Regions from separate parts of the Homo sapiens genome. Here all the other regions are linked to region 2. Evidence: promoter capture Hi-C in 16 types of primary human blood cells and fetal thymus (Javierre and others, 2016). All regions are on one chromosome and are shown on one strand. The core of a region is centred on a gene start or on the middle of the fragment in contact, and the rest is flanking DNA. Distances in the headings are between cores, read along the strand shown.

Region 1 (5,826 bases), core at 1,076-3,575, 240 kb before region 2:
CAGCTGGAAAGCTGGGGTGGGAAGGCCTGGACCAGAGTAACAGCAGAGGAAATGAGCAGAAGGCTTGGGGGCAGGAAACCATCAGGACTTCTTAAATTTGGGGGCGTAGAGCAGGATCAGAGACAGGGAGGTGGAAAGTCGCTGGCTGAACTTGCAGCCCACCCCAGGTGCTGTCAAGCATCCAGGTCAGGGTTAGAAATTGGTCGCCTGGAGCTCAGGGCTGGGATTTGGGCTTGTGGTTGACCTGCCTATGGGTGAAAGTCATCACCTCCGTATTAAAAGGGATTGCCAGCCGAGAAGGAGCCACGAAGGTGGAAGGAGACCAGGGGAGTCCCAGTCAAGAGGCCGCCTGAGGAACGTTTCAAGGAGAGAGGGTGCTCAGCAGTAGTGGATGTTGGGGACACCTCATTGGAACGCCTGGCACATAGCGGACACTCAATATTTGTGAGCTGAATGAAAGAAAAACCCGGAGTAAGAACATGATACATTCAGGACAAGCAACATGAAAGAAATAGCAGTTGAATTTGGGAGTCAAGAGAATAACTGAGACCCTTTAAGTGGCATAAGGGAGAAAAAAAGGAAAAAATAACTGAGAGATTGTTGCATTTGTTCCAGAAAATGGCTGGGACCTGCCCCAAGGCCAACACTAAGCACTGATAATTGACCATTAGGAAACTCTGTCCCGACCTGCAGAGTGGAGGCTCCACTCCAGAGTGGAGGCTGGAGTGGTGTGGGGTTTAATGTGCAACCTTTTTTTTTTTTTTTGACAGAGTCTTGCTGTGTTGCCCAGGCTGGAGTGCAGTGGCGCGATCTTGGCTCACTGCAAACTCCACCCTCCCGGGTTCACGTCATTCTCCCGCCTCAGGCTCCCGAGTAGCTGGTACTACAGGTGCCCACCACCACGCCTGGCTAATTTTTTGTATTTTTAGTAGAGATGGGGTTTCACCATGTTAGCCAAGATGGTCTCATCTCCTGACCTCATGATCCGCCCACCTCGGCCTCCCAAAGTGCTGGGATTACAGGTGTGAGCCACCGCGCCTGGCCTAATGTGCAACCTTTGTGTAGAGGTTGCAACGTAAATGCAAATGTGAGCCTTTTCCATTCAATCTCAACATTTAGAGATCAGAAAAAATAATATATATAATACTGCTAAATGGCTCACATAATTCCATTACAAATCACTTCTTTCTTTCCACGTGTGTTTTTCTTTCCCCTTAGAAATAAAGAGGATGTAACAGGTTCTCTGGCACTGTGACCTTCCTTACAGCTTGCCTGTAAGTCCTTTATTTATTTATTTATTTATTTATTTATTTATTTATTTATTTTTGAGACGGAGTCTTGCTCTGTTGCCCAGGCTGGAGTGCAGTGGCCTGATCTCAGCTCACTGCAAGCTCCGCCTCCCGGGTTCATGCCATTCTCCTGCCTCAGCCTCCCAAGTAGCTGGGACTACAGGCACCTGCCACCATGCCCGGCTAAATTTTTGTACTTTTAGTAGAGATGGGGTTTCACCGTGTTAGCCAGGATGGTCTCGATCTCCTGACCTCGTGATCCGCCCGCCTCAGCCTCCCAAAGTGCTGGGATTACAGGCGTGAGCCACCGCCCCTGGCCTCTAGTCCTTTTTTAACAAGGTTATTTAAAAAGACTTTACTGGCCAGGCGCGATGGCTCACGCTTGTAGTCCCAACTACTCGGGAGGCTGAGGTGAGACGATTGCTTGAGCCCAGCAGTTTGAGGCTGCAGTGAGCTATGATTGTGCCACTGCACTCCAGCCTGAGCAACACAGCAAGACCCTGTCTCAAAATAACTAGCTAGCTAGCTAAGTAGCTAACTAACTTTACTGCTTCTTGAGATTCCTATCCCTGGACATTTAAAAATACATTATTTAAAAAAATGCATTTCCTATTTTTCTGGCTTAGAGAAAGATCATTTTCCTTCATATCTTTCTGGCTTTAAAAATATTACTCTGGGGTGGCTGCTGTGGCTCACACCTGTAATCCCAGCACTTTGGGAGGCCAAGGTGGGAGAATCACTTGAGTCCAGAAGTTGGAGACCAGTCTGGGCAACACAGTGAGACCGTCTCTATAAAAACAAACAATTACTCTGAATGGGAGAAGAGGCTGCTGAAGGCCACAGTGGGGAGCAGGGCGCAGACACCCCTGGCACAGTGCCGGCCAGTGGGCACCCCCAGCCTGACTCTATTTGCCAGAGGCTGAAGTCCAGAGGGGTTGAGGGGAGAGCACGGCAGGTCCTGGGGCCCCTCCCCCGCCTTGATCCTAGGGCGCCCCTGACCTTTGAGCCGGCTCGGGTTCCGGCTCTGGCGCGTGCACACTCGCCTCGCCGTTCGGGACCAGCCAGATCGCGGCGGCCTCGCGGGCGGTTTGGTCGGTGAGGTCTTGGCCGCGCGCGGCAATGCTGAGGCTGCTGGCGTCCGGGTGCGCCCGGGGCCCGGGGCCCGGCGTGGGCGCGCGTCCTGCCGCAGGGCTCTTTCATCCGGGGCGCCGCCAGAGCCGCCAGGCTTCCGACGCGCCCCGGAACCAGCCCCCCAGCCCCGAGTTCGTGGCCCGGCCGGTGGGCGTCTGCTCCATGATGCGCCTGCCGGTGCAGACCTCCCCCGAGGGGCTGGACGCTGCCTTCATCGGGGTGCCCCTGGATACTGGGACCTCCAACCGGCCTGGGGCGAGGTAAGGCCGGAAGGACGGGGGCCGGGTACACGTGGAGGGACTGCTTGCTGGCTGTCGGGCATGGAAAGCACCGAGACAGGCGCCCCTGCTGGCCCCGGGTCGAGTTGGAAGCTGGTGGCCGGCTCCAAAATGCCCCTTATGGTTTGAGATGGTTGATTTACCTGGACCCTCAATAAGCAAACCCCAGGGCTCAACATGGGCGTGGCCTCCCACATCTTAGTGTCATCATTGGTCAAGAAGGGATTTTGGCCGGCCCGGTGGCTCATGCCTGTAATCCCAGCACTTTGGGAGGCTGAGGCGGGCGGATCACGAGGTCAGGAGTTCGAGACCATCCTGACCAACATGGTGAAACTCTGTCTCTACAAAGGTACAAAAAAAAGAAAAAAAAAGCCGGGCATGGTGGCGCGGGCCTGTAATCCCAGCTACTCGGGAGGCTGAGGCAGGAGAATCGCTTGAACCCGGGAGACGGAGGTTGCAGTGAGCTGAGATTGCGCCACTGCGCTCCAGCCTGGGCAACAGAGTGAGACTCCGTCTCAAAAAAAGAAAAAAGAAGGGATTCTGGAGCCTGAACCTTCTCTGTGTCCCCATCCTGGGGCCTTGCTGGGATGGCTGCTGTGGATTCCTCCCCTCTCCTCTCCCCAGCTTACAGTGGCAGGTGACATTGCATTTGAGAGCAGAAACTGGCTGCCCCTTCCCCAAATCTGAAGATGTCACCTGACTCAAGAAATGCTCAAATGAAGGCAATTTTCCTAGGATCAAGTCGGAGGAAGCAAAATTCATCTTCCTAGTTATTGAACGTCAGCAATTTCTGATTCAGCTCAGCAACACTATATCTGACCGTACTGATCTGAATTATGAAAGCCAGCACTTATTAAATGTCTCCTAAGTGCAAGGTGCTTTGCATAGATTACCTCATTTAATTTTTACTACAGTGCAAGGTAAATATTTTACAAATTAGGAAACTGAGACTCAGGTAGATCATGAAATTCACTAATGCCATTTAGTACACTTATTTAGTCTCTTCGATACATAGCCTAGATCGGTGATTCTCAAGTGGGGCGGTTTTGCACTCCGGGGACATTTGGCAGTATCTGGAGGCGTTTTGGGTTGTTACACCTTGGAGGAAGGGTGCTACTGGCACCTAGTGAGTACAGGCCGGGATGCTGCTAAGCATTCCATTATGCAATGCCGCGACACGGAATCATCTGGCCCCAAATTGCTGAGGCTGAGAAGCCCTGGCCTAAGCAAAGCCTGAAATCTCTGCAGATGATGGCTGACAGGATGATTCTTCCTTCTGCAGATTCGGACCTCGCCGCATCCGGGAAGAATCAGTGATGCTTGGGACAGTCAATCCTAGCACGGGGGCCCTCCCCTTCCAGTCCCTCATGGTTGCAGACCTAGGCGATGTGAATGTCAATCTTTACAACCTTCAGGACAGCTGCCGGCGAATTCAAGAGGCCTATGAGAAAATTGTAGCAGCTGGCTGTATTCCTCTGACCTTGGGTAATGTCAGTCTGCAAGAGCCAGAGTAGTTCCCTGCACTCAGGGTTTACTTATCCTGTACTCAGGGGCTTGAGTACAGCTACTTCTCCCCTGCAAGCCACTGCAAATGTGCAGACAGTAGGAAAGAGAGCATTGTAATTCATTTATTTTAATCCCTGGGGAGAGAATATTTCACGTGTGTGTGTATGTGTGTGTGTGAGACAGTCTCACTCTGTTACCCAGACTGGAGTGCAGTGGTGCAATCTCGGCACATTGCAACCTCCACTTCCTGGGTTCAAGCAATTCTCCTGCCTCAGCCTCCCAAGTAGCTGGGATTACAGGCGCCCACCACCATGCCTGGCTAATTTTTGTATTTTTGGTAGAGTCGGGGTTTTGCCATGTTGGCCAGGCTGGTCTTGAACTCCTGACCTCAAGTGATCCGCCCACCTTGGCCTCCCAAAGTGCTGGGGTTACAGGCATGAGCCACCGCGCCTGGCCAAGATGATGTTTCTAATGACTTTATTTGCGAGGAGAACTGCAAAGAGGGTGTTTTTGTCCTGCTCAGGGTCTACATCAACCTATAGGGCAGCTTTCCCCTTATCCTCACCCCTGACCCACTCTCACTTTTTCTCTTGTTCACAAATACTTAAAATGACAGGGATCTTTTCCTAAATATCCAAATTCATTTTTGCCAAGTTAGAGAGCCTAGCCTGCATGGCATAGTGGGAGGAGTGTGGTTTCCCGATGGCATGGTTTGAAGTCTCAGCTGCACTTCTCCCTAGCAATGTTGCTGTATACCGTGCTTGATGCTTCACACCCTCACCTGTAAGATGGGAATGATCACAGTAACACCTACTCACTGCATGATGTGAGGGGCATATAATGAAAGTGCACATGAAATGCCCAGCATCAAGCATGGCATATCTTTTTTTTTTTTCTTTTTTTTTGAGACAGAATTTCACTCTTGTTGCCCAGGCTGGAGTGCAATGGCACGATCTCGGCTCACTGCAACCTCCGCCTCCCGGGTTCAAGCAATTCTGTCTCAGCCTCCTGAATAGCTGGGATTATAGGCGCCCGCCAGCATGCCCGGCTAATTTTTATATTTTTAGTAGAGACGGGGTTTCATCATATTGGTCAGGCTGGTCTCGAACTCCTGACCTCAGGTGATCTGCCCACCTCGGCCTTCCAAAGTGTTGGGATTACAGGCGTGAGCCATTGCGCCCGACCTATGCATGGCATATCTGAAGCTTCAATAAATGTTAACTGTTATTATTATCAGAAAGAATACTTTCCTAGGTCTGTGCTGTCCAGTAAGGTAGCCACTAGCCACATGTGGCTACTTAAATTCTTTTTTTTTTTGAGACAGAGTTTTGCTCTTGTTGTCCCGCTTGGCTCACGGCAACCTCCGCCTCCTGGGTCCAAGTGATTCTCCTGCCTCAGCCTCCTGAATAGCTGGGATTACAGGCGCGTGCCACCACGCCCAGCTAATTTGTTGCATTTTTAGTAGAAATAGGGTTTCAACATGTTGGCAAGGCTGGTCTCGAACTCCTGACCTCAGGTGATCCGCCGCCTCAGCTTCCCAAAATGCTGGGATTACAGGCGTGAGCCACCACGCCCGGCCTAAATTCAAATTAATTAAAATAAAATATTCAGTTTCTTAAGTC
Region 2 (5,816 bases), core at 3,242-5,741:
GTCACCATGAGAAGGGCCACCTCTATTTTCTAACGGCTTGTCTTTCAAACACGAGGTTCACTGTCAGGCATTTAGAACTTGGAACATGGTTTCCATTATAACCACTGGTTAGGGCCCCAGATGAGCCTGTAAAAAGTGTTTAATCCAGAATATGGCTGAGATATTGTATACTTTGCAGTGAAAAGTAGTTGACAAAACTCTAACACTCTGCTGTCCCAACACCAGCCTTAAAGCAGAAGAAAAGTGACATCATAAGAATTTCACGTTTATTTGGATCCTTTGAAGTGGGTTTCAGGGTAGGACATTTTCCTGTGAATTGTAAAAGAGACTTTGAGGCACTTCCTAGGGACTTAGGGTTGGCTCTGCTGTGTCTGACTCTGCGTCTACACTCGCCAGGCCTTCCTCTGGGTGGCTTCTCTGCAGTCGGGACAGGTACTATTGGTAAGAGAGGCCTTGCCTGGCTCACACACAGGCCCTACATGCTCAGTTGCTGTGCTTCCAAGTTCACAACAGATAATGGGGATTAACTTTGAACATGACCTCAAGACCCAGATTATGACCTAGTGATTCTGTTGACCTTAAAAACCCTGATGATGTGGCGGAAGATCTAATGAAAAGAAAATCAGGCCGGGAGCGGTGGCTCACGCCTGTAATCCCAGCACTTTGGGAGGCCAAGGCAGGCAGATCACTTGAGGCCAGGAGTTCAAGAGCAGCCTGGCCAACGTGGTGAAACCCCGTCTGTACTAGAAATACAAAAAATTAGCCAGGCATGGTGGTGCACCTGTAGTCCCAGCTACTTGGGAGGCTGAGGCATGAGAATCGTTTGAACCCGGGAGGCAGAGGTTGCAGTGAACCAAGATCATGCCGCTGCACTCCAGCCTGGGAGACAGAAAAAAAGAAAATCAAATAGCCACTGGCAGTTGAATGGAGCCTGTGGCTGGGGCTGCTCTTTCAAATTCCCCCGATAGGAAGCCACAGAGAAGTTCTGTCAGAAGTAGGCTGACATTTTAACAGACGCGGGGTGACCCAACCACAGATCCTCTGCAATGAAGCTTGAATTTATCTCCTGAGCCCCGTGGCCTCAAAGTCTCTAAATTCAAGAATCTTCCCCAGGCTTTTGCTGTTGACATCTTGGGGCATTTGACTCAAGTAACTCTTTGGAGACCCTCCTCCTCATCCCCACCCCTGGAGAAATCACTTGGGGGCAAACCTCAGTGACGCTCTGTGAGAGGGCTGCAGGGCACACCTGTGCCAGAGACGCCAAGGGAGAACCGACATGTAAACGTCTCTCTGTCCTGGGTCAGATCAAATGGCACAGGCTTTGCCCAGAGGTCTTTTTGTTTCTCCTGCAGCAGTGGGTGGGCAAGGATTTTACTCAAGGAGTCAGTGTTGAAGAAAAACAAATGCCCAAACAGAAGAAGAGGCACAAGTGGCAGCAGAGACAGTAGTAACAGCTGCCGTTTACTCGGCAATCATTCCGCAGGCCAGGCCCTCCATTATACACTAGATCTGAGCCCACAGCCGCCCCTTCGAGAAGGGAGGCAGCGGTAGGTCTGCTGCAGCCAGGAAGTAGCCCAGCTCGGATTTGAACTTGTGTCTCATCTGGCTGCAAAGCCCGCACTCCTCTGTGCTGTGTCAGGATTGAGGAATTCATGAAAGCAGATGTGAAAAAGGATCAGGGATCTGAGGGTGACCACAAGCTAAACATGAATCCACAAATGTGACAGAGCTTTCCCAAAAGCTAGTTTGGATGCATTAACAGAAGTAGAATATCTTCAATGCGGGAGGGAGGAGTCCTCCCCTAGGCTACCGTGGCTGGAGAACAGTGGTTCTGGCCACCTCCCTTTAGGAAGAAAATGGGTGATGGGTGACAAACTCAATGCCTATGAAGCCCGGACAGATACCAAAAATGACGTGGGCTGTGTTTAATGCAACGGGGAGTGGTGAGGACTCTGGCAAACTGCTGCTACCCGGTAAGGCTTCTAGTCCATTTTTGCTAAGTAGAAACAAGGGCTAGATTTTCTGACTTTTCGGGAGAGGCTGGAAATCTGAACTTTTAAATAGATTTTATGAATTCAAAGTAAAATATTCCGGGGCCAAATATAACTTCCACAGGCCCTTTTTAGTCGCTGAGCTACCAGTCTGTGACTTCTGGAGAGCAGCACAGGCCACAGGAGGCAGCCAGGGCCAGGCTCTAGTCCTGTGAGGGACCTGAGGAACAAGGGCGCTTGGGCCCGGGGAGGAGCAGACACAGGGTGCGGGCGCCCCTGTTTTCACACATCTGAGTCATCATGTGGAAGAGGAAGTAGATGTATCTTGTGGGAGCGCAGGGGAGGGCGGAGGACTGATACTCCTCCGGGGCGTAAGAGTTTGACACAACTCAACCTAAAGGGAAAACTTTCTGTCGGCCTGAGGCATCCATGCTGGGACGGACTGTCCTGGGGTGGAGAACATTCCTTAGTGGTGGTGCTGAAGGCTGGAGGCTTTTAGGATGCTGGTGGAGGGTCCACGCAGCCCTGAGGTCCCATGACTCTGTCATTCTCCCGTTTCTGTGCTTTGGAACACAGAAGACGCCCATGTCACCATTCCTACTTGTCTCCCAAGCGCTCTCTCTCTCTGACTGTGTTTTACACTGTTTACAATTTTTTCCCAACTGGTTGTCAAGGCTACAACTCCAGGGTTCCCTCCTTGAGTCTCCCACGCTTCCCAAAGTAGCTGAGCCCACCCAAACGCAAACTCCACGAGGAAGGCTCCACCACGATCTCACCCCCATCATCGCCGCTCTGAACTTCCTTCCACATGGCCCTCAAGCCGACTGGGGCTCAGCCGACTCTATCTCCCCGAGCGTACCTCCTTCTGGCGGGCCAAGCGTTCCTCCAGCTCTTGGACTCTTGTCTGCTCTTCCTCTAATGCTTCCTTCACTCTGTTCTTCTCCTGGGTAATGCTTTTCGCCAAAGCCTGAGTCAACGATCATTGTTCAATAGACATGGTTACCATGGGAGGAAACTGGACTCTGCCAGGCACCGCACAGGTTTCCTCTTCCCTCCAGACTACACCTCCCTAGGGGACTGTGGACAGCACAGCCCTGGAGCTCAGAGCCGGCGGGCCCAGACCAGAGCCCCAGATCCACCCTTCCTAGCTGCAGTGGGGCTCGAGCTGACTCTGTCTCCCTGAGCCACATACCTTCTTCTGCTGGGCCAGGAGGCTCTCCAGTTCTTGCATTCTCTTCCGTTCTTCCTCTAAAGTCTCTTTCGCTCTGTTTCTCTCTTGAGTAATGTACTCCTCCAAAGCCTGGAAACCAATGACCATTGTTTAACAGACATGGTTACCATGGCAGGAATTTGGACGCTGCCAGGCACTGCATGTGCTACCTCTTCACTCCTCACCGCACTCCCCTGGGGAGGCTGTGGGCAGCAGAGCCTAGGAGCTCAGAGCATGTGCTCTGGAGTCAGGAGACCCAGGGTAGAGCCCCAGGTTGATCCTTTCCAGCTGTAAGGCACTGGGGAAGTGAAGCTACCAGAGCCTCAGTTTCCCTGCCTGTACAACGGAGACAGTAATAGTCTTCCTGTGTTGGGTTGATGTGAGGGGTGGATGCGACGATGAACACGAAATGCTTGGCACAGTGATAACCATGCTTCCCACCTTGCAGAGGAGGAAACAGGCTTACATTCAAGAATCCACCCAGTTTACTAGTAAATCACAAGAGGAGGGATTCTAACTCTGACCCATTTGATTCTGAAGCCTGTGTTCTAAACCAGAGGTTAGCAAACTATGGCTTACAGACCAAATCTGGTCTGTTTTTGTAAATAAAGTTTTATTGGAACACTGTGCTTGCTGTGTATTGTCTATGGCTGCTTTTGCAGAAGAGCAGAGAGCATATGACCTGCAAAACTGAAAATATTTACTATCTGGCTCTTTATGGGACAATTTGGCCAATCCCTGATCTAACCCATTGGTGTGTGCACAAACCAAGGGATTGTTGTCAACAACTGGCAATAAGAAAAGAATGTTAGATTGATAAAGGAACATAGAATTTTTTTTCCCTTTGAAACAAAGTCCTCAAACAAGTCAAGATTCATGAGATTAATGACCCTGGACACATGTATTTTCGGAAAGGGCAGGTGATGGGAGTCAGAAGGTCTAAGGAAGGCTCATTTAGTCAGGACACTTGGCACTGAAGTCCAAGAGGTAACTTTCCAAGGAGTCCCCAGGGTCAAGTCCATCAATCCGAGTATCAGAGGAAGGGCGACCTTCGAGTGTCACAGTCTGTCTGGCAGGGACCTGATGTTGCTTCCTCCCTCTGCAAGGAGGGTAGGGTGCACCGAGGTTTTCAGGTTTAAAAGAGGGGCTGACGCCAGCTCTTAAAACACTCTGCCAGGCCAGTGTCGCCAGGGTTGTCTAGGAAGACTAGGCAGGCGCCCAACGCAGTGTTTAACATGGTGGGGCTGAAATACCAAACCCTGACAAGGGAAAAAGTCCATCCAAAATTAAAAAGAGAAAATAAGGCATTTGGGATGCCGATGTTAAAAGGAGAAGGTAATCAGAGAAGAAAAAAGGAAGTCGGTGGAGAGTTCTGCGAAGATTTTGAAGATTTCTAGGTACTTTCTGGTTTTATTTTCTTCTCTATGGAACGGTGCTGGCTTTTTCCGTATCTAAATGCCCTTCAAAATGTGCCCATCTTGATTTATAGCTATCATTAATATTACCTTTATGCGGATTGCACATGATTTGGTCAGATGGCTCTTCTTTTTTAATCTTTTATTTCGCAAATGCAGAAAAGCAGAGAAAGAGGCAAAGAGAAGAAGGAGGAGGAGACTGATGTTTTGGGGTAACTGGACACACATGTGAGGATGGAGATGAAAGAGGGAGAGGTCTGGAGGGCAGGTGTGTGTGGTAGAGAAGGAGCTGGGGAAAGATGGAGAAGGGGGCAGGTCCAGTACTCTTCCGGGGAAGAGAGGAGATATCTGGGAAGAGTTGGGGTCCGGTGGATCTGGGGGGCTGCTGTCTTGAGGGGGCTGTGAGGAGGGGCAGCATGCACACGCTGCTCCACACCCACCCACAACAGTGGCTCGCAACCGTGGCTGCACTTTGCGACCACCCGGGAGTGCTTAGAAATCCCACAGCAGGGGCCACACCCTCACCCCACTAAGATCAGAATGTGGAGAGTCGGCGGGGAGAGGTGCAAGGCATTAGTAATTTTTAATCTCCTAAATGACAAAAGTCATAAAGACAGTGAAATTCATGGGAGGGGTCCCTGAATATCAAAAAGGGCCAACCCTCAGGTATGGTGGCTCATACCTGTAATCCCAGAACTTTTGGAGGCTGAGGTGGGAGGATCACTTGATGCCAGGAGTCTGAGACCAGCCTGGGCAACATAGAGAGAGACCTCATTTCTACAAAAAATAAAAATATTAGCTGGGTGTGGTGGTGTGTGCCTGTGGTCCCAGCTACTTGAGAGACTGAGGTGGGAGGGTCACTTGAGCCCAGGAGTTCAAGACCAGCCTGGGCAACATTGCAAGATCCCATCTCTACAAAAAAAAATAATAATTAGCTGGGTGTAGTGCCATATGCCTGTGGTCCCAGCTACTTGGGAGGCTGAGGTGGGAGGACCACTGCAGCCTGGGAGTTCGAGGCTGTGGTGAGCTATGGTCACACTATTGCACTCCAGCCTGGGCAACAGAGCAAGACCCCATCTTAAGAAAAAAAAGGGCCAACTCTAGGACAGTGATGAGAATCAGCTCATTAAATAATACAGTTTCCTGGCCCTCTCCAGATGTTCTGATTTAATGGGTCTGGAGGGTGGAGACCAAGATCTG
Region 3 (5,911 bases), core at 1,681-4,180, 220 kb after region 2:
TGCCTGGCATCAGGCCATTCCTCAACTCATCTCCTGCTGGGTGGTCTATCGTCCTCACAGCGTGCTGGGCTCAGGATCTGGGCCTCCTGGCTGGAAGGGAATCTGGGTGGCTTAACAGGTTTTATTTGTCCTGAGGCCAGCTTTCAAATTTTGCCGACCCCACTGATGTTTCTGGCATCCTGTGGAGGAAAGAAAACAAAAGCCATTTCCCCCCCAAAAGCCACCTTTTGGGATTGCAGACAGCTGGCAGGGATGGTGGGGGGCCCTGCCCACCTGAAACTTTGTCTACTGGGCCTGGATCTCTGAGTGGCCTAGGCTGCTTTGGTCCTTCTTGAGCTGAGCTGGGCTAGGCTGGTGAGGGGCGTATTGTCCTGCCATCTAGTGGCGAGTTCTGGGACTGCGAGCTATAATGGCCCAGGCGCTGCCTATAGTGGAGCCATATATACCAGGGCGGTTGGTCCCAGGCCCCTGGTCATGCCACAGAATCACCAAAGGAAGTTTAAAAACTACGTAGGCTCCAGACTCACCCCACACCTAGTGAATCAGAAATCCCGAGGCCTGGAAATAAGCATTTTAACTTTAGCGTGTAGATTCCCTAGGCCCTATCTCAAAACCCTAAATTATTGGCTTTGGAGAAGGACCTAGAAATCGGAACTTTTAACAAGAGTACTCCAGTGACTCTCGTGAGCAGCTTGACTTGAACACCACCCATTCAGCTGCCCACAAGATAAATGAGGCAACTGTGGGATGTAGATTATTTTAAAAGCTGATACAATATTCGATCGTATTACTAGGAGCATAAAGTCCAGGTTAAGGGAGGATAGCAGTTAAAAACATCTGGGTTCGAATCCCTACTTTTGATACTACTAGTTATGTGACCCGGGGCCAGTGTCTTAACTTTTTCCTGCCTCTGTAAAGTGGGGATAAGAGTACCTGTCTGCCAGGATTACAGCAAGGACTCAATTAGATCTCATGTAAAGGGCACAGGGCCTGACCCTTGGGAATTGGGCCCTTCATTACGATTCCACTGCTTGGGCCTATGTGGGAGCACGGTGTCCTTATTCAGGGATGTATTTATGAGAGGATTGTCCAGAGAAGGAAGAGATGGAAGGGGAGACCATGGAAGAAGGACAAGGGGCATGGAAAAGGCTTGAGGGTCTGTAATGGGGTTGGGGGAAGGAGATGTTTTGGGAGGGAGGCATTTATGCTGCTTAAAAAAAATAACAGGCCAGGCGCGGTGGCTCACGCCTGTAATCCCAGCACTTTGGGAGGCCGAGGCGGGCAGATCACCTGAAGTCAGGAGTTCGAGCCCAGTCTGGCCAACATGGCGAAACCCTGTCTCTACTAAAAATACAAAAATTAGCCGGGTGTGGTGGCTCATGCCTGTCATCCCAGCTACTCAGGGGGCTGAGGCATGAGAATCACTTGAACCCAGGAGGCAGAGGTTGCAGTGAGCCAAGATCGTGCCACTGCACTTCAGCCTGGGTGACAGAGCAAGACTCTGTCTCCCCAAAACAAAACAAATAACAGAGGGTCAACGTGGAAGAGGGACCAGGAGGCAGAGTGATAGAAAGTCCCCATGAGCAACTGGAACTAAGAAGGGCACAGGCAGACTCATGGTACAGTGAGCTCACAGCCACAGGAGACTGCAGGCCGATGCTGCATGAGGAATCTGTTGGGTGCCATAAAGCAGTGGTTCCCAACTGTGGCACTTATGTCCCTCATGGAGTGTGACCTGATTTGGGGGACATGCAGGTGAGCATTTGCAGGAATATTTATTTGTATATTTATGTGCATACTTGGCACATAGAGGCACACATATCCGTACCCACATCTATGTATTAGAAAACAGAGCCAGCGTCTTAGGCCTGTGGTTACACAGACACAGGCAGTGATGTCAGGTCTGGCCCGATTTAAAATAGGCAGCTATTATGCCAATAATAGTAGAGCTGGTTGTGGATGTGGTTGGAATAGTCAGGGTGGTCTTGGGGAACCCAGCCATAGAGGAACTTTCTGCTTGGGTTTGGAGACTGATGTCAGTGACATGGACTGGCTTTCCTGTGAGTGAGGACTCCACCCCAGGGCCTTCACTCTTGTGTCACCAAGAGGGTGTCGGCAAAGTTGCCGTTTTTAACAAGCCAGTCTGAAGCCTCTGGTGACCTCGATGCTGGAGTTTGTTGGGTTAAGTGACCACAAAACCAAATGAACCTGCCCACCTAACACGTGTCTCCTGGAGTCTTTCACTCTTGCTTTGTGTTTCTTTTCTTCACAGCACCTGCTGACATGATATATATGTATGTGTGCATTATTTCAGGCCAGAGACTGTTTTGTCAGTAGATCTATTTCACATAGTGCTGGCATAAGGCACACACACCCAGCAAGTGTTTGTTGAGTGAATAAATGATGGAAGCAACTTTGATAAGACTTGCTCCAGTTGTTTGGGGATGCCAGTTGCATGCCCATCTATCTCTGAGAGGCTCCTGGAAGAGCATCTTGCAGCAAGTGTACCAGGGCTCTGTGCTGTCAGGGTGGTGTTGGCTCCATCCTCTTGGCGCTGGGTTGATCTCTATCCTGAGCTAGAACCGGAGTTGTCCTGGAGAGGAACCTGGCCAGAAAAGAGCCATGTGGAAACCCTGTGAAGAAACCAAAAGAGGGGCGATGGTCCTGGGGTGTCCAGATGGTGGCATGGCAGTGAGGAGACACAGAGCCATAACTTGCCCACAAAAGCAGCCTGGCTTCTGACTCTGCAACTCTCACAGGCTCAAGGGGACGACATTGTAACCAAAATGCAGATTCAGTTCCTCGCCACTTGCAGAGTCTAATTAACAAGCTAGGTCTGGTATAAAGAAAGTGACTTTTTATTCCAAAGCTAACATAGGGAAAGAAGTACAGGCTTCCTGCCTTAAGGGTTCCACCTTGCCTTTGGAGCAGAAGGGGAGTGTTTTTAAAAGGGGCCTACACAGGGGTGGAAGTGAGCAGGGGGGTTTCACATGCTACCTTGATGGCTTATTTACTGGGACTCGAGTTGGCATCTTCATGGGCATACTTTGGGTCATCAATCAACTGTTATCTATCGAGGAAACCTCCTGGTGGGTGAGAGTTTTGCTTTGGAGCTTCTAAGCACATGATTAGGTGAACTTGCCCTGTAAGGAGTGTGTGGGGAAGAGGAGGTAAAAGGCTATAACTGCATTTCTAAAGAGCTAAGTAGGAAGTGAAGAACAGGGAGAAATGGAGAAAAGAAGAGAAAATAATAAAGAATAATAGTAACTCCTTGTCTTTTTCCGGGAAAAATGGGGGCACTTGTTACTCATCTCTAGCAGCAAGACTGGGTCAATTAAAAAAACAGAAGAATTTAGGATTCTTTCATGCTTCCAAGTTGTTCTGTGTAATGCAGATAGAGTCCTTAAAATGCAGGCGAGAGTTGTGTGTGTGCATGTGTGTGGTATGTAGTTGCTGGGAGAAAGGGTGGGAGTCACCTCAGTGTCAAGGCCAGTGGACAGTAGGTCATTTACCTGGGAATCTTCTCCAGTCAAGCATGTGGAATCCAATTCTAGTTGTCTTTAGCTGGTGATGGGGGTAGTGTGTGAGACTCTTACGTGCTGAATTGCATATCCTCAAAATTCAGATGTGGAGTACCTAAGGGTGTATTTGGAGATCAGATCTTTAAAGAGGTAATTAAGTTCAAATGAGGTCAGATGGGTGGGCCCTAATCCAACATGACTACTGCCTTATAAGAAGAGGCGATTTGGGCACACACATACATAGAGAGGCAACCGTGGATGGACCACAAGGAGAATATGGCCGTTTGCAAGCCAAGGAGAGGGGCCTCAGAAGAAGCCAACCCTGCTGGCACCCTGAGGTTGGATTTCCAGCCTCCAGGACCATAGGCGGGTCCATGTCTGTTGTGCAAGCACCGTGGCCTGTGGCTCTTGATTATGGCAGCCCTAGCAAACTAAGACACAGAGAAATGGGAATGGTAGGGTGGTGGTGCTTAGTGCATCACAACCAAACCTCAGAAAGCAGGGGTGGACGTGGCCTTGGAGACGACTGGATCTGAGAATAGATCAGTTGTCCTTGCCCCCCTCCCGCATCTAGGCATCCGACTCTGGCTGGGCCCCGTTCTCTAGGCATCTCCTTGTGGGTGGGATGGGGCAGCCTGCAGCTCTGGGACTCGTCGTACAGCTTAAGATCCAAAAAAAAGCGGCAGCTCACCGCCACCTGCAATTCTGAGCCCTGTCGGAAAGGGTTCTGATTTTCACCTCTCAGGTTTGGAGTCTACTCCCGGGCCTTTCATCATGGGCCAGGGCTGCAGGGCTGGATTGGTCCAGCCAGGATCCTGAGACTTCCCTGAAGGCGGGGTTGGGGGTGAGGTGGGGGCAGCAGGATCCTAAGGGCACTAAGATCAGCAGCACCCCCACCTCCAAGAACTTCACGGAGTGGGGGCGGAGCAGTTCCCTGAGGCCAGCCAATCAATCGGGAGGTCTCAGCAGAGATGCTTTCCCCTCTCCATCCTGATTGGTTCCCACCCAGGAATTTCCCATGAAATCCAAACCACAAGGCTCGAGGCGGACCCCCACTGGGAGGTCCCGGGCCGCGCCTGGGGCGCAGGCAGGCGGGTCCCTGTGAGTGTGTGGAGTGGTGGTGGCTGTCGACGGCCATGTGGCGTCATGGTGATAGGAGGGTGTCCATTCTTTTTCTTCCTTATCTAGGACTTGAGGTGGGACATGGAAGAACAGGGACCCCTCCTGGTTTGTCCACCCAGCCCACACCTCCATTCCTCACCCAACCTACCACTTCAGAGCCGGGAAAAGACCTCAGAGAACATCCGCTCCGACTCTACCGAGGCTCAGACAGGGTAAGGAGTTGGCCCCACGTCACACAGCCTGGTGTATGTGGCAGAGCCTGGGTGACAGACAGTCAGCCCCACCAGGTCTTTCAGCTCCAACCTTGGTTAGAAGGGGAGGAAGGCTGGCACACCCAGCTGCTGCCAGGCACCGCCGCTAATGTGCTGTATTAGTGGCCGGGCCTGAATCACTTGCCCAATTTGGACGTGGGCAAGTTTCCAAAATGTCCTGGTTGTTTCCTATTGTCTATTTTTAAAAAATGATGGCCTGTAATCCCAGCACTTTGGGAGGCTGAGGTGGGTAGATCACCTGAGGTCAGGAGTTCAAGACGAGCCTGATCAATATGGTGAAACCCCGTCTCTACTAAAAATACAAAAACTAGCCGGGCGTGGTGTCGCGTGTTTGTAGTCACAGCTACTTGGAAGGCTGAGACTGGAGAATTGCTTGAACCTGGGAGGCGGAGGTTGCAGTGAGCCGAGATTGCACCACTGCACTCCAGCCTGGGCGCCAGAACAAGACTCTGTCTCAAGAAAATAAATAAATAAAAATAAATAAAATTTAAAAATTTAAAAAAGGTGGTGATGATGCAGGTGTGGTGCAAGATTAGCTATTATAAGTACTCACCGAACCAGACCTTTCTAAGTCCCTAAATTATTACCTTGTTTTAAGTCAGGAGCTCACGGGGCTGATGGGGCTGTCTTTACCCTTTAAGCCTATAATTTACAGAGCAATATTCTTCCAGGCAGAGGGGGTGGATCCAGCTTCCAACCGTGCAGTACTTAATAATGAGGAGGTCTTTTTCGCCTTGGGGACATCTGGCTTCAGGAAATTTTACTGTAAACAGCTGGGTGTGACCAGCCAGCTTTAGGGCCAAGGCTGTAATGGCCCAGTGGGTTCGAGCCCAGACTCCACAGAGAGCCAGTCTGCTGAGGCTGAGGTCCTAGCTGCCACTCACTAAGGTGGGACACTGGGAAATCTATGGAACACTCCGTGCCTCAGTTTCCCATCTGACCAATGGGGAAAACAATGCTTACCCGAGATTGTTGTGGAGACTAAATGAGCAAAAA
Region 4 (5,428 bases), core at 327-2,826, 150 kb before region 2:
TTGCTAGAGGTGGCCTGCGCATTTTTTACGCTTTCCAGCCGCCATTGGAAATAAGATCATTGGCCAGGGGCGGTGGCTCACGCCTGTCATCCCAGCACTTTGGGAGGCTGAGGCGGGCAGATCACGAGGTCAGGAGATCAAGACCATCCTGGCTAACACAGTGAAGCCCCATCTCTACAAATAATTAGCCAGGTGTGGTGGCACACGCCTGTAGTCCCAGCTACTTGGGAGGCTGAGACAGGAGAATCGCTTGAACCCAGGAGGCGAAGCTTGCAGTGAGCCATCGCGCCACTGCATTCCAGCCTGGATGACAGAGCGAGACTCTGTCTCAAAAAAAAAAAAAAAAAAAAAAAAAGATCACTTTCAAGATCCATGGAATCTGGTGTTCTATAGTTCTATATCTGGTATTTGCAAGACAGAAGTCAGGAATAGAGACTCCAGACACATTTCTTCCCTTGGTTGTCTTAAAGGGGACACTGTGATCTTGACAGCCTGAGTAAAGGGTTTGAGTGAGTGCCTATGATATAGTGGACAGTTTCCTCAACTATATTTCTAAAAAAAGACAAGTTTTATGTCTTTTTAAAAATTGTGGCAAAATACATATAACATAAAATTTACTATCTTAACCATTTTTTTGGGGTGATTGCTTGAGCTCAGGAGTTTGAGGCTGGAGCGAGTTAAGATCATGCCACTTCAATCTGGGCAACAGAGCAAAAGTGTGTCTCTTAAAAAAAAAAATGCCTGTAATCCCAGCACTTTGGGAGGCCAAGGCAGGCAGATTGCTTGAGCCCAGGAGTTTGAGACCAGCCCGGGCAACATGGCAAGATCCTGTCTCTACAAAAAATACAAAAATTAACTGGGTGTGGTGGCACCTGTAGTCCCAGCTACTTGAGAGGCTGAGGTGGGGGATCACTTGAGCCTGGCAGGTCAAGGCTGCAGTGAGCTGTGATTGCACCACTGCACTCCAGCCTGGGTGACAGAATGAGACTCTCTCAAAAAACAAAAACAAAAACAAAAAACAATCCCCCAAAACAAAACAAAAAACCACTGCCCTCTCCCCACTGAATGGTCCTGCCACCCTTTTCAAAATTCATTTGACCACGCATGTGAGGGTGTATGTCTGGGCTCTATTCAATGACATTGACCTATGTCTGTCTTTATGCCAGTACCATACTGTTTTGATTACTGTAGCTTTGTAGTAAGTTTTGAAATCAGGAAGTGTGAGTCCTCCAATTTTGCTCTTTTTCCAGATTGTTTTGTCTATTTGGGGTCCCTTGAGATTCTCGTGTGAATTTTAGGATAGATTTTCTATTTCTGCAAAAAACATCATTGGGGTTTTGATAGGGATTACATTTAATCTATGGATTGCTTTGGGTAGTATTGAGATCTTTAAGTTTTCTAATCCATGAACATAGGATATATTTCCATTTATTTATATCTTTTTTTTTTTTTTCTTGAGACAGAGTCTCGCTCTGTTGTCAGACTGGAGGACTGTGGCGCCATCTCGGCTCACTGCAACCTCTGACTCCCTGGTTCAAGCAATTCTCCTGCTTCAGCCTCCTGAGTAGCTGGGATTACAGGCACACGCCACCACGCCCAGCTAATTTTTATATTTTTAGTAGAGACGGGGTTTCACCATGTTGGCTAGGATGGTCTCAATCTCCTGACCTAGTGATCCACCAGCCTCGGTCTCCCAAAGTGCTGGGATTACAGGCGTGAGCCACTGTGCCTGGCCTATGTCTTCTTTATTTTTCTTTCTTTCTTTCTTTCTTTTTTTTTTTTTTTTTTAGATGGAGTCCTGCTCTGTTGCCCAGGCTGGAGTGCAATGGCACGATCTTGACTCACTGCAACCTCCGCCTCCTGGATTCAAGTGATTTTCCTGCCTCAGCCTCCCAAGTAGCTGGGATTACAGGTGCCCACCACCACGCCTGGGTAATTTTTGTATTTTTTAATAGAGACGGGGTTTTACCATGTTGGCCAGGCTTGTTTCAAACTCCTGACCTCAGGTGATCTGCCTGCCTTGGCCTCCCAAAGTGCTGGGATTACAGGTGTGAGCCACTGTGCCCGGCTCTTTTTCTTTTTTGAGACTGGGTCTTGCTTTGTCACCCAGGCTGAAGTGCAGTGGCGCGATCACTGCACACTGCAGCCTCAACTGCTTGGACTCAAGTGGTTCTCCCACCTCAGCCTCACGAGTAGCTGGGACCACAGGCACATGCCACCACACCTGGCTAAATTTTTTATTATGTGTAGAGATGAGGTTTTGCTGGTCTGGAACTCCTGGGCTCAAGGGATCCTCCTGCCTCAGCCTCCCAAAGTGTTGAGATTACAGGCGTGAGCCATGGCATCCAGCCTTCTTTCTTTCAGCAATGTTTTGTAGTTTTCATTTTACAAGTCTTTCATCTTGGTTAAGTTAATTTCTAACTATTTTATTATTTTTGATGCTATTGTCAATGGAACCATTTTTGTAATTTCTTTTTCTGATTGTTCATTGTTAGTGTATAGAAATGGAAGTATTTTTTGTGGTTGGCTTCGTATCCTGCTAATATGCTAATTTTATTTGTTCTAATAGTGTTTCATCTTTAGGGTTTTCTGCATATAAAATCATACCATTTGTGAGTAGAGATAATTTTACTCCTTCTTTCCAATTTGAATGTCTTTTATTTCTTTTTCTTGCCTCCTTGCTCTATTAACTTCTAGTAATGTGTTGAATAGAAGTGGCAAAAGCAGAAATTCTTGCCTTCTTCCTGATCTTATAGAAAAAGGTTTCAGTCTTTCACCATTGAGTATAATGTTTGCTGTGGGTTTTTCATATATGGCTTTTACTATGTTGAGGTAGTTTCCTTCTATTCTGAGTTTGTTGACTGTTTTTATCATGAAAGCTTGTTGAATTTTGTCATGTGCTTTTTTCTGCATCAATTGAGATGATGATGTAGGGTTTTTTTCATTCTCTTATGAACCCCAAAAATCTGAGACAGGTCTCAGTCAATTTAAGAAGTTTCTTTTGCCAAAGTTAAGGATGCACGCCCAGGAGACAGGTCTATGCCTTTCTCTGAACATGAATTTTAGGGTTCCAAATTTAAAGGGGAAAGGGCAGGATATTGAGAAGTACACAGTTTTCAGGTAAGAGCAGGGTAGGGGGAAATAGTCATTCAAGCATTTGTCTGGCTCAGTGAATTTGCATTTTTACGTAAGGTAACATAGGGCAGGGGAAAATGCAGGGAACCTGCATTTTTACGTAAGATAACAAAGACAAATGGGGCAGGGGAATAATCAGATATGCATTTGTGCCAGGTGGGCAGAGGGGTGATGCCTCTGTAAAGATAAGCTATCCATTTACATTGCCGTGGTGAATTTTATCAGACAACTATCTTGGAGCTCACCAGGAATTTCCTTGTGGGCAAAATATGGGAGAGGTGTGTAGCTTTTCATCTTGTAGCCATCTTATTTAGGAACCAAAACGGGGAGGCAGGTTTGCGTGACCCAGTTCCCAGCTTGACTTTTCCGTTTGGCTTAATGAGTTTGGGGTCCCAAGATTTATTTTCCTTTCACACTGTTAATGTAGTATATTGCACCGACTTTCATATGTTGAACCATCCTTGTCTGTGTATTTCAATGACAAGAGGTGTTTGTTTCTGCTTCCTGCAGAGCAGAAAGACCATGGGTTTGAGGTGGCCTCCACTTCCCCTGAAGACGAGTCCCCTGGCAGTAACCCCGAGCCAGATGCCACCCCGTTCCAGGAAGGTTTGAGGACCTTCGACCAGCTGGACGCCATATCTAGTTTGCCCACACCCAGTGACATCTTTGTGTCCTACTCTACTTTCCCAGGTGAGCACATCAGAAGGGCTCGTCCTCGCAGCCAGTGGGTCTTCCCGTCTGCCCTAGAGGCAGCTGTGTGGTGAGAGAAAAGACCAGGGTATGAGTCCTGGTTCTGTCTTTTGCCCCTCTGTGACCCTGAGCAAGTTACTTCTCTCTGAGCCTCGGCTCAGGCTGAGCGGGCAAGGATGCGCGCTGCAAGGAGGCCTGCGCCCTTGGGTTCCTATGCCTCACTTGCCTCTCCTCTGCCTGACCCTGCCTCTGCCTTCGCATCTTTAGCAGGGGAATAGGAATCGTGCCTCAGGGGTTTCCATGGGAATTAAACAAGGTGGCTGGCACGTCACTGAGCACAGTGCGGGGCACGTAGTAGTTGCAGCAAGCGGTAGTTTCCTTCCTTCTTTTTTTTTTTTTTTTTTTTTTTTGAGATGGAATCTCGCTCTGTTGCCCAGGCTGGAGTGCAGTGGCGCGATCTTGGGTCACTGCAAGCTCTGCATCCCGGGTTCACACCATTCTCCTGCCTCAGCCTCCCAAGTAGCTGGGACTACAAGCACCTGCCACCACGCCTGGCTAATTTTTTGTATTTTTAGTAGAGATGGGGTTTCACCGTGTTAGCCACGATGGTCTCGATCTCCTGACCTCGTGATCCACCTGCCTCGGCTTCCCAAAGTGCTGGGATTACAGGCGTGAGCCACCGCGCCCAGCCTTTTTTTTTTTTTTTTTGAGACGGAGTCTTGCTTTGTCGCCCAGGCTGGAGTTCAGTAGCATGATCTCAGCTCACTGCAACCTCCACCTCCCGGGTTGAAGTAATTCTCCTGCCTTAGCCTCCTAAGTAGCTGGGATTACAGGCATGCATCACCACACCCAGCTAATTTTTGTATTTTTAGTAGACACAGGGTTTCACCATGTTGGCCAGGCTGGTCAAGAATTCCTGACCTCAAGTGATTTGCCCACCTCGGCCTTCCAAAATGCTGGGATTACAGGTGTGAGCCACTGTGCCTGGCAGTTTCCTTCCTTTCTTATGTCTTGGATGAGTCACTTGACTTTTCCAAGCCTTGGTTTCCTTGCTGGGAAAACAGGAATTATAGCCGGAATCAGGGGATGGTCATGAGGGTGAAATAAGATCATGATTAGGGCAGAGCCTCAGGGGCCAGGCTGCTCCTGTTGGATGTATGTATGAGTCAAGGTCTGGAGGGCGCCCGAGCCAGCGTGCATGGCCAGAGGGGTGGTGGGGAGCCGGCGGAGGGGTGGCTCTCCAGCAGTGTTCAGCCCTCCTCCCTCCAAAGGTTTTGTTTCCTGGAGGGACCCCAAGAGTGGCTCCTGGTACGTTGAGACCCTGGACGACATCTTTGAGCAGTGGGCTCACTCTGAAGACCTGCAGTCCCTCCTGCTTAGGGTGAGTGCTGCCTTCCTCTGCAAAGGAGAGGGGAGGCTGCTGAGGGGCAGCGTGTCCTCCTGGGGCTGGGGATTTGGGGTGAGCAGGGCAGGCCCAAACCAAGGGTAAAAGGTAGTAGACTCCTGCCTCTGAGCCTTGGAGTCGGCACTTTTGTGTCTCTTTATGAGAGGCATCCTGCCTGTGGTGACGTTTGCCCTTTATTCAAAGAGTTGCCTTCCCTGT

The links. The method cuts DNA at HindIII sites, captures the fragments that hold promoters and counts their contacts. A CHiCAGO score of 5 or more calls a contact.
Region 1: the fragment with the promoter of AGMAT here is called in contact with the fragment with the promoter of FHAD1-AS1 in region 2 in 2 of 17 cell types (neutrophils and M1 macrophages); the score reaches 14.2 in neutrophils.
Region 3: a fragment that was not itself captured here is called in contact with the fragment with the promoter of FHAD1-AS1 in region 2 in 3 of 17 cell types (monocytes, M1 macrophages and megakaryocytes); the score reaches 7.5 in monocytes.
Region 4: a fragment that was not itself captured here is called in contact with the fragment with the promoter of FHAD1-AS1 in region 2 in 2 of 17 cell types (neutrophils and M1 macrophages); the score reaches 6.1 in neutrophils.

The regions. Positions count from the first base shown.
Region 1 is chr1:15,581,550-15,587,375 of GRCh38, reverse strand. It overlaps AGMAT (agmatinase (putative)), which reads left to right and starts at 2,325. Exons shown (of 7, transcript NM_024758.5): 1 at 2,325-2,680; 2 at 3,981-4,183. The coding sequence starts at 2,409. RefSeq lists a silencer at 2,343-2,672 and an enhancer at 2,783-2,832. The HindIII fragment of the contact is 7,120 bases long and covers 1-5,411 here.
Region 2 is chr1:15,342,558-15,348,373 of GRCh38, reverse strand. FHAD1-AS1 (FHAD1 antisense RNA 1) reads left to right here and starts at 4,491. Exons shown (of 2, transcript NR_148919.1): 1 at 4,491-4,598. FHAD1 (forkhead associated phosphopeptide binding domain 1) reads right to left here. Exons shown (of 34, transcript NM_001391957.1): 17 at 3,184-3,291; 18 at 2,851-2,958. RefSeq lists an enhancer at 2,382-2,581. The HindIII fragment of the contact is 5,872 bases long and covers 1,055-5,816 here.
Region 3 is chr1:15,123,172-15,129,082 of GRCh38, reverse strand. It overlaps TMEM51-AS1 (TMEM51 antisense RNA 1), which reads left to right. Exons shown (of 5, transcript NR_027136.1): 2 at 4,710-4,855. Among named protein-coding and RNA genes, the nearest start is that of TMEM51-AS1, 26 kb to the left of the region's middle. The HindIII fragment of the contact is 8,431 bases long and covers 1-5,911 here.
Region 4 is chr1:15,493,670-15,499,097 of GRCh38, reverse strand. CASP9 (caspase 9) reads left to right here. Exons shown (of 9, transcript NM_001229.5): 7 at 3,646-3,825; 8 at 5,097-5,206. Among named protein-coding and RNA genes, the nearest start is that of CELA2B, 20 kb to the right of the region's middle. The HindIII fragment of the contact is 2,610 bases long and covers 272-2,881 here.